3 separate regions of the Homo sapiens genome follow, and all the other regions are linked to region 1. The links are contacts of gene promoters, found by promoter capture Hi-C in blood cells and fetal thymus (Javierre and others, 2016). All regions are on one chromosome and are shown on one strand. Each heading gives the region's core, a stretch centred on a gene start or on the middle of the fragment in contact. The rest is flanking DNA. Distances are from core to core; before and after follow the strand shown.

What was found. The method cuts DNA at HindIII sites, captures the fragments that hold promoters and counts their contacts. A CHiCAGO score of 5 or more calls a contact.
Region 2: a fragment that was not itself captured here is called in contact with the fragment with the promoter of TMEM128 in region 1 in 1 of 17 cell types (naive B cells); the score reaches 12.3 in naive B cells.
Region 3: a contact is called between a fragment that was not itself captured here and the fragment with the promoter of TMEM128 in region 1, in 2 of 17 cell types (naive B cells and total B cells). The highest score is 7.3, in naive B cells.

What each region holds. Positions count from the first base shown.
Region 1 is chr4:4,246,427-4,249,566 of GRCh38, forward strand. TMEM128 (transmembrane protein 128) reads right to left here and starts at 1,797. Exons shown (of 5, transcript NM_001297551.2): 1 at 1,680-1,797. The coding sequence starts at 1,776. RefSeq lists enhancers at 1,139-1,765, 2,068-2,177. The HindIII fragment of the contact is 7,732 bases long and covers 1-3,140 here.
Region 2 is chr4:5,804,727-5,807,846 of GRCh38, forward strand. It overlaps EVC (EvC ciliary complex subunit 1), which reads left to right. Exons shown (of 21, transcript NM_153717.3): 17 at 4-115. Among named protein-coding and RNA genes, the nearest start is that of CRMP1, 87 kb to the right of the region's middle. The HindIII fragment of the contact is 3,449 bases long and covers 1-2,975 here.
Region 3 is chr4:5,822,107-5,825,608 of GRCh38, forward strand. CRMP1 (collapsin response mediator protein 1) reads right to left here. Exons shown (of 14, transcript NM_001014809.3): 13 at 3,388-3,502. It also overlaps a transcript of EVC not described here. Among named protein-coding and RNA genes, the nearest start is that of CRMP1, 69 kb to the right of the region's middle. The HindIII fragment of the contact is 5,333 bases long and covers 1-3,502 here.

The DNA of each region.
Region 1 (3,140 bases), core at 547-3,046:
CTAGAGCTAAGAAACAGTCTCTCCCATGATAACAAATCCTTCTGTAAAACCCTTGAGATAGGTTTATATTTACAAAAAATAAGAGCCCACTATAAAATATGGTCAATACAGTCAATTTATTTCCTCTAAATACATTGTGAAATCAAATTTACACTTTCATCGTCTTTCGGAAATAACAATGTCACCTGGAAATGTAAGAATTTTAATATTATGTTTCACATTTCTTCTAGGAAAGTAATTAGTCTTGTTAATTAGGAAAAATGCCAAAGGCAAACATTAGCGCATGAACTGGACTTGTGGTCTTCCAAGAACACTTTTATAACTAAATTTTTTTTTTTTGAGTCGGAGTCTTCCTCTGTCGCCCGGGTTGGAGTGGAATGGTTTGATCTCGGCTCACTGCAACCACCGCCTCCCGGGTTCAAGCAATTCTCCTGCCTCAGCCTCCCGAGTACCTGGGATTACAGGCGCCTGCCACCACGCCGGGCTAATTTTTGTATTTTTAGTAGAGACGGGGTTTCACCATCTTGGCCAGGCTGCTCTATTTGGCCAGGTTGGTCTCGAACTCCTGACCTCGTGATCAGCCCGCCTCAGCCTCTCAAAGTGCTGGGATTACAGGCGTGAGCTACCCTGCCCAGCCTATAACTAAATATTTTAGTTACTTTAAACACAGCTCAAAAGTGGAAACGGCACACCAGAGCTCTAGTTCCAGCACAGCACTGTCTAGACAGGTGATGGACAAGACATTTTTCCTGTCTGGAACGCAATCTGAAAGAATGGGTGGATGGGGGTTGGGTCAGATGGATGATTTCTATTAAGTTTTCCGGGGATTCTGACATGCCCTCTAGGTTCACGTGAGAATCAATGGTCCACATCTGAGGTTTTGGGCCTTTAGATGACCATCGGAAACCCTGGGAAGCATGTTCGTAATATTCTGGGATATCCTCAAAATGTATACATCATCATGCCTGGGCATGAGGTTATTCGTGTTTTTAATTTTAAAAGGTAATAAATGGACGTGGTTTTAAAACATATGAGATAAAAAATATCCAAAATGAAGTATCTGTCTCCCATCCTTAACCTCAGATCTAATCCCCAGAAGCAACCACCACTTACAATTTCTACTGAATTCTTCCATATTCTATGCATTCACAGGTGAACATACATCACAAGTTACCTGTTTTGTACCCAAATGGCGGCATACCATAGTGTTCCACACTTCCCTTTGAAAATCATCCCCATTGGTACATACGAGTCGACCTGATGTGTCAGGTATACATATACCCAAATTTACTTAAACAGCTTTCTGCTGACGGGCAAGGCAGATATTTCCAGTAATTCGCTATTACAAGCAATCCTGAAGTGAAACACTGCGCACATCATTGTACACTGCGGTACACGCATGTTTCTGGTAAATCCTTAAGACTTAAAACTGGTGGGTATTTTTAATTTTAATCGCTATTTCCAAATAGGTGTCAAATCAGCTCTCCAGAGAATTCTGAAGCGCAGCTGAAATGACGATGCACAGCACTCCGCGATTCTAAGGATCTTCCCTGACATTAAATATTCGACTTGCAAAGCCGAAACTCAGTCCTTCCAGACTGGGCCAGGGCTGCCGGAGGCCGGCCGTTTTCCGACGCCTCGCCTCTGAGAACCTCGGGGCGGCTTGGTGCGCGCCTCACCCGGCCCGGCGTCACCCTCGCGGTCCAGCTGGGCCTCGGCGTCCGGCAGGAGGAGGAATCGCCGCCGGAGCTGCTGCCGGGCCCGCGAGGAGTCCATCTTGGTACCGCCCCGAAATGCGACGGAAGTGACGTCAGACACAGCGCTTCCGGCGTCCGCTCCGGGTCTGGACCTCCTGGCGTTTGGATTGGAGACTGTGTTCTCTTCGCTGTTTAGTTAGCGAGCAGCTAGGGTGGAGTCGGCCTCAAAGGTTCCGCTCTCATGTCGGCAAGTGTGATTTGAATTTTAAAACACTGAGCTTTGCCGGTGGAAGAGTTCCCAAGTTTATTCCGACCTACGGAAGCCCAGGAGGACCAGGATTACCGCTGCCGCTGGATGCGTCCAGGGCCGGGATGCGCGACCGTGAGACGCTGCGCTTCCGAAGCCCTCGCAGGCTTCCGGGTGCCAGAGCAGGAGACATACCCTCTGTCCAGCCTTCCACTCTCAGCCCCCAGTTTTTTTCCTACTTTTGCTTTTCAGGAGTCGTCCAGCAAGACTTGAAAGGAGGAGAAAGGCCTGCTGGACAGGATGCTAGAGCCTGGCAGTGACCACTTGGGGGCCCTGGGCATTAAATAAACTTCTTGGGGCCCGTTTCGTTATTACACTTGGCTCTAGATTTGTTGTGCGTTTCAGTGAGAAGTACCTGTATGTGGTTCATGTGAGCCTCCTCCTCGCCACTTGTGAAAAATCCTCCCAGCCTGAACCGAGGGAACTAAATTGCTTTCCCAGCAAACTGCGGTTTTCCACACTGCTCACGCCCACAAACTGTGTGTTACGAGTTCACAACTTTTTCTTCGTCAATAATCCCGCGTATTACTCTCCCAGCCGTTTCCCAGCGTGTCATGTGCTGAGAAATGGTGGGCTTAGCCACGCAAACGTTTACTGAGCATCTACTATTTGGTAGGAGCTGTTAGGCACCATGCTAGCAGTGGAGATAAAGATGAGTAAGACATGGCCTTGCACGTGAGGAGCTCCTTGTCCAAAGAAAACCACAGAGGTATATTACAAGAAAACTCTATTTGTAAATGTATGAAAGCATTTCATCAATGCAGCCAACATTTTCTGAGCAGCTGCATGTGATAAAATGGTGAGGACAGAAGAATCTAGTAGAGGAAGCAGCTTCAATACAGTGCCATAATAAAAACACTGTACATGGGGCATAATAGAAACACTGTACATATAAAGGGCAGTTTATTCTGCTGCAGTGTGGGAGAGCAGGGAGAGTGGTTTCAGGTGAGTTGAATACAGGGGTGGAGAGCCAGCTACATAGGAAGTAAAATTTGAATTAGTAGGCACTGTTTAATATCTTCGATGTGTTGGGGTGTTTGTAAAAGGAATGTAATAAGAAATACTCAAGAAAAGAGTGCCAGCCGCGCGCGGTGGCTCACGCCTGTAATCCCAACACTTTGCGAGGCCGAGGCGGG
Region 2 (3,120 bases), core at 1-2,500, 1.6 Mb after region 1:
TAGGTGAGAGGATGGAAAATTACAAACTGCGGAAAAAGCAAGAACTCAGCAACCCTTCGTCGGGCAGCAGGACGGCAGGTGGCGCTCATGAGACCTCCCAGGCGGTCCACCAGAGGTGAGGTCCCAACTGAGGTCCCACGTAGGGCTGTTCTCTACCCCATTCACATGGCATATCTCTCTGTGGTGCCGTCAGCAGGTGCCGTCGCGTGCATTGCCCGTGGACTTGGGGGCCATCGGCCTTCCTCACCCGCTGCCTCTGTCCTGGTCTCTGCCCTCCATGCAGCACCTGGAGTGGCACCTGGCACAAATGAGTGAGCAGGTCATGGTGTGGTGGCAGCTTCATTCCCAGGTTTAAGTGGCATTCACAGCCCGGACACAGGTCTAAGCCATGTTTAGACACGCGCCTACCCTCTCATACTTTGGGCATTCTCAGAAGCAGACCTTGACGAGGATTTGGGGGCAGGTTGTTTACCTGGGAGGTGACCCGCAGAGGCACAGTGAGAGGGCAGGGAAGTGAGGAAGAGGTGGCTGCTTCCTGTAACTGTGACCATCACAATGAGTGCAAATGTAACAGCCCAAGCCATGTAGACTGCCTGTCCCACAGTGCTGGAGGTCAGAAGGCAGGCTTGGCTCTCCTGGCTTCTCTGTGCCTCACAAGGCCTGAGCGAAGGGGCCCGCCGACCGGGCTGTTCTTAGGAAGCTGCTCAGTAACAGGTGTCAGGAAACGCCCTGCTGCAGGGTTTGCACAGACCGAACTTGCCCTAACTTTCCAGGCTCCCAGCAAACTACAGTCTGGCAAGTCCTCAGATGTGGGGCGCAGAAGCATCACTCGGCTTTCCTGCGAAACTTGCAGGTTCTGGGCCCACACCTGGAGACTCAGGCTCAGAAAGTGTGAGGAGAGCCCAAGAATCTGAATTTTAGCCGCACCTCTCCGCACCAAGGGATACTGATAGATGTGGTCCAAGGGCTTCACTTTGACCCAGGTGATCCAAGAGAAGGAGCCTCAGCAGCCAGCTGGGCCAACCTGCTTTATGGAAGAGGAAAAGGAAGCCCAGTGTTGGGAAAGGGGGTGCATGAGCCCATCTGTGACTCACAGCTTATATGTGGCTGTTGATGCCCTTCCCTCCCTGTCACACCTCCTTGAATTCAGAGGCAGTTTCTTTTCTTTTTTTTTTTTTTTTTTGAAGGAGTGACAGTACAATTTTGTGACATAGCTATATTGAATAGTGGTGAAGTCTGAGCCTTTATTGTAACCATCACCCAAATAGTGTACGTTTTACCCATTAATTTCTCATCATCCACTCCCCTCCCATCGTCCCGCCGCCCTTCTGTGTCTCTGTTGTCCATCCTTCCACTCTCTTTTTTTTTTTTGAGACAGAGTCTTGCTCTGTTGCCCAGGCTGGAATGCAGTGGTGCAATCTCAGCTCACTGCAACCTCCGCCTCCCGGGTTCAAGCGATTCTCTTGCCTCAGTCTCCCGAGTAGCTGGGATTACAGGCGCGCACCACCATGCCCAGCTAATTTTTTTGTATTTTTAGTAGAGATGGGGTTTTACCATGTTGGCCAGGCCGGTCTCAAACTCCTGACCTCAGGTGATTCACCCGCCTTGGCCTCTCGGTGCTGGGATTACAGGTGTGAGCCACTGCGCCCAGCCTGTCATTCTACTCGCTGTGTCCATGTGCACACATTATTGAGCTCCCACTCATAACTGAAAATATGAGATATTTCTGTTTCTGAGTTGTTTCACTTAAGAAAATGGCCTCCAGTTCCATCCACGTTGCTGTAAAAGACATGATTTCATTCTTTTTTATGGCTGAGTAGTATTCCATTGTGTATATGGACCACATTTTCCTTATCCAGTCCTCCATTGATGGACACTTAGGTTGATTCCATATCTTTGCTATTGTGAATAATGCAATGAACACACGAGAGCAGGTATCTTTCTGATATACTGATTTATTTTCCTTTGGGTAGATACCCAGTAGTGGGATTGCTGGATCAAATGGTCATTCTATTTTTAGTTCTTTGAGAAATCATGCTGTTTTCCATACAGGCTGCACTAATATACATTCCCACCAATGGTGCATAAGTGTTCCCTTTTCTCCACATCCTCACCAAGTGTTATAGTTTGTCTTTTTAGTGATAGCCATTCTAACTGGGGTAAGATGATATCTCCTTGTGGCTTTAACTTGCATTCCTCTGATGATGGGTGATGCTCAGAGTTTTTTCACATGCTTCTTGGCCATTTGTGTGTCTTTTTTTTAAGAACGTCTATTCATGTCCATAGGCACGGTTTCTAGTGGAACTCGGCCTCCTTTAAGGTGTGAGAGAGGCTGGAGTCTGGAGTGCTGGCCTCAGCTGTGCCAAATGAGTGATTTGTTTACTGTCCACCCTCCTTCCTGCCACTCAAACTAGAGCTCCTTGAGGACGGGGACTGTGGGTCTCTGTTCACACCTTTGTCTCAGAACCCAGCACAGCACCTGGCAGGCCAGAGATACTTTAATGAAGGAATGAGTGGATGGATGGAGGGAGGGAGGAATGGAGTGAGAGGTGGAGGGATGGATGACAGCGTCTTGTAGGGTGCACAGGAATTTGCTGGGCAAAAACAGAGAGGAAAGGTGTTACTGGCGGACAGAAGAGTGTGAGGTAGGAGCAGGGTGGCATTTTCACACCTCGGAGCACTCCACACGCACAGCTGCCTATCCATGCTAAAGGTGGCCCTGACTTCAGGTCTAGAAATTCGACCCCTTTCAGAAAATCTGCCCTAAAAGATGGGAAGGAGGCAGGCAGGGAGCAATAATGGAAACAGGGTGGCTGGATTTGGATGTTCCTGACTGCTTAGGAACGGAGGGCATCCAGAGAGGGAGGTGGGCCCTGGGGCTCAGGTACCCGGCCTCTGCTCCAGCTCTGTCCCCCTCTCTGAGAGTAACAGGCTGCCTGCCGTATTCGGGATTTCCCAGAGGCTGCATCCCAAGAAGCTTCTCATTTTACGAGGGAGGGGCCGGGGCAGTTCTGAGATTTAAACTCAGGGATGGGTAGCCGGTAGGCCTCTGGTCCTTTCAGGAGAATGCTCCTCCCTGGGGAAAAGATTGTTTTCTCATGAGAAGATGCCACCTTCTGC
Region 3 (3,502 bases), core at 127-2,626, 1.6 Mb after region 1:
TCCGACATTCCTGAGACAGGTGATCAAACACTTACTGAGTGCCTACTGTGTGCAGGCGCACATTTGGTGCTTTAACATGTTACTGCATTTAGGGCACACAATCATACTATGAAGGGGGTGTTTGTACTCCCAACTTACGGGTGAGCAATTTGAGGTTCAGGCCACGTGTCTTGCGGGACACAGGTGTTGGGTGGGGAAGCCAGGATTGAAGCCCAAACTGGTTGGTTTTCAAAGCCCATGATCTTAGGCACACTGTCCCACACTCCAAAGGTATTTTACATATTGTGTGTGTACACATTTGTATATGCATGTGCATATGTGTGTGCATGTGCATGTGAACTCCGCAAGCTGGATTTACTTCCCTCATTGGCGATAGGTGGATCTGAAGGGGGGGGGGGTGGTGTGCAGAGGTTCTTAATTTTAATCTTTCAAAACCAACCATCCATTCTACTTTTACCTATTCTCTTGCATAAAGATGTAAAATTCTAGCAGCAAACCCAGTGCCTGGAGCTCAACAAATATTTATTAAATGAGTAAATCATGAAGGGTGGATAATGCTGAAAGGTGGGAAGGATAGAGTCCTTATCAGGGAGGGGAAGTTGAGCCGGCGGAACTGAGGAAAATCAAAAAGAGAAAGCAAATAAGCTGTAAGTCTGCCTTTCTTCATGGTCTACAACACAGCCTTCCTGTACTCAACTTATCACCAGATCCTCAGCTAACAGAAAAACGTAAGTAAGTTAGCTCACTGCAACCACAGCATTATCAGTACTGCACAAAGCCCTCTTCGGCACACAGCACAAGCACCATCCTATAAAATCTCCAGCAAGCCTTTGTTTCCTTGCAGTCGGCTCCTTTCTTGCTGACCTACCCACTGTACCCTTTCATACTTTTTCTAATACATCTGACTTTCTTTACCGACAACTGTCTTGGTGAATTTTTTTTACTAGCTGCAGAACACTGGCCCCAGGTAGTTGTCACCTGCAACAGGAAGGAGACTCAAGTTTCAGTGCTAATCATGCCTTGAATTTGGGCAATTTGGAGTAAGACACCACCCCACTCCCTTGGCCTCATTTCCTTTTCTGCACAATAAGAACAGTAGACTAGATGAGCCCCTTCCAACTCCAACATTACATGATTTGTCTATGTAAGCCACTAAGAATTTGGTTCACAGTAGTGACTTTTCTTTTCTCCCATTGTTTCACTGGTAGACAATATGTCTTCTTGCAATACAAGTCTCCCCTAAAGGCCTGGAATCAGGCCTAGCACTTAGTAACTTTTTCCTTACAACCATCTGTACCTTGCTGGTTGCATGTCTGTACTTTGAAAATACCTGCTGGAAAAAAGGACACTAATATGGTTTGGACTTTTGTCCCCCAAAACTTCGTGTTGAAATTTGATCCCAAAGTTGGAGGTGGGGCCTAATGGGAGGGGTTTGGGTCATGAAGGACAGACCACTCATGAATGGCTTGGTGTCAGCCTTACAGTAATGAGTAAATTCTTGCTCTATTAGCTCTCGGAAGAACTGGTTGTTAAAGAGCACCTCTGCCTTCTTCCTCTGTTGCCATGTGATCTCTGCACACGCTAGCTCTCCTTCGCCTTCTGCCATGCTGGAAGTAGCCTGAGGCCCTCACCAGAAGCAGACGCTGGCACCGTGCTGCTTGTACAGCCTGCAGAGCCGTGAGCCAAGTAAACCTCTTTAATTACCCAGCCTCAGGTAATCCTTTATAGCAATGTAAATGGACGAAAACAGACACTAACTCATGGTACAGCTCTATAACGTAACATACGCAGATATTAAAAAGGGCATCTGTGAGGTTGTTATGATGTTGGAAAGCATCTGTGTTGTTGGTACCAAATGAAGTCACCTATCAACCTGCCAAGAGGCTGGCTGACAGCAGTGGTGCTGTGGGCCTCAGGAGGACTAAGAGTGAAACTGAGAGAACAAGGGTGAGGAGGGGCCCTTCCAGGTGGCTTTTAACTTCATTGTTATTCTTGTTCTAAGAACAACGGGGAGGAGGATTTTCTGTCCATGTTTAATTGCAATTGTGCAGTGTTTAATTGCATAACTCCAGAACAGTGGTCCAGTTTGCAAACTCCTTGAGAGCTTGTGTCTTGTTGCACCCAGATAGCTTTTTCCCAGGATGAAGCCAATCCCTGGTTTGCTGATTGAGCATCACATGACTTTTAGCATTCTATTTAGGGTCCATTTTGTGCAAAAATATGAAACACTGGAAGCTCTTCCATCAAAGTCTTATGGAGAGTGAGATGAATGGGGAGGCCTCCTTGATTCATGCCTCCTCGGCATAATCACTGAATCAGACACTTCCTGAATGGATAAGAGGTTCTGCCACCACACAATCTGAATTCACACGTCATCCTCTCTCTCTCTCTCTCTTTGCCCCTTCCACTCTCTCTTTTGCTAAGCATATCGCCTTTCCTGACCAGGAATTAGCAAACGGGTCCATTGACCAAATCCGGCCCACCGCCTGTTTCTGTACGATCCATGACCTGAGAATAGTTTGTACATTTTCAAATGGCTATTGAATATAACATCCTAGATGTTGACATCCTAGATGTTGCCTCTTAGCTTACAAAGCCTAAAGTATTTACTATCCGGCCTTCTAAGAAAAAAAATCACCATACTCTTAGTACCCAGCACGGTGTGCAACCCATGCAACGCCTCAAAGAGTTTGCAGGACAAAATTCCAGTTCAACTTTCTCAACGTGTGCGTGCCTGCCCTCATGTGGCCATCTCACCAAATCACAGATACACTGCCCTGAGACCTTAAGAAAGTCAGGAGGGATCAGGTCAACATCTAATTTTGTTCCCACACATTTGTTGAGCACCAAGTCCTGGTATTTTGACACTGGATTTCTTGGGGCTTCCGTTTCCTCTTTAAATAAATAGGGTATAATGTTACTTTATGGAGTAGTGAGGATAAAATAAAATCATGGGTTATGAAAGTGCTTAGTACACTGCAGTGGGTGAACAGGCTAAAGACTTACACAGAGCACATGCCCTGCAAATGGCAGCTACTCCCATCTCTTGTTCATCCCCACCACTCCATGTTTACTTTCATGAGGAAGAGTGTGAAAGTGTCCCCAAATGTGTGTAAGGATGAGCACTGGGACAATTTTGGTACCTCTCTTTGTAAACCCACATCAGGTACCACCATGTTGCCCCCCTAACATGGACCCCCCTCTGCTTGGTGACCATGCCAGCCCACTCTGCCCCACCAGTGAGAGCAGGCTCGGGTGGGGCACACTCCCTTCCCTGCTTCTTCATCTAGTGTCCAAGGCCACGTGTCCATTTCCTCAGAAGCAGCAGGAAGGACTCGGCCTGAACTGCTGCAATTGTGGGGAGCCTGGGCCACCACTCTTTCCTACCTGATAAGCTGAAGTTGGACTGGTGGAGGTTTCTGATGGGTGGGGGCTGGTGTTTAGAAGGCGAAGATTTGGCTGAAGGAGCGGGAGTTGCATATTTGGGTGTAGCTGGTACCTC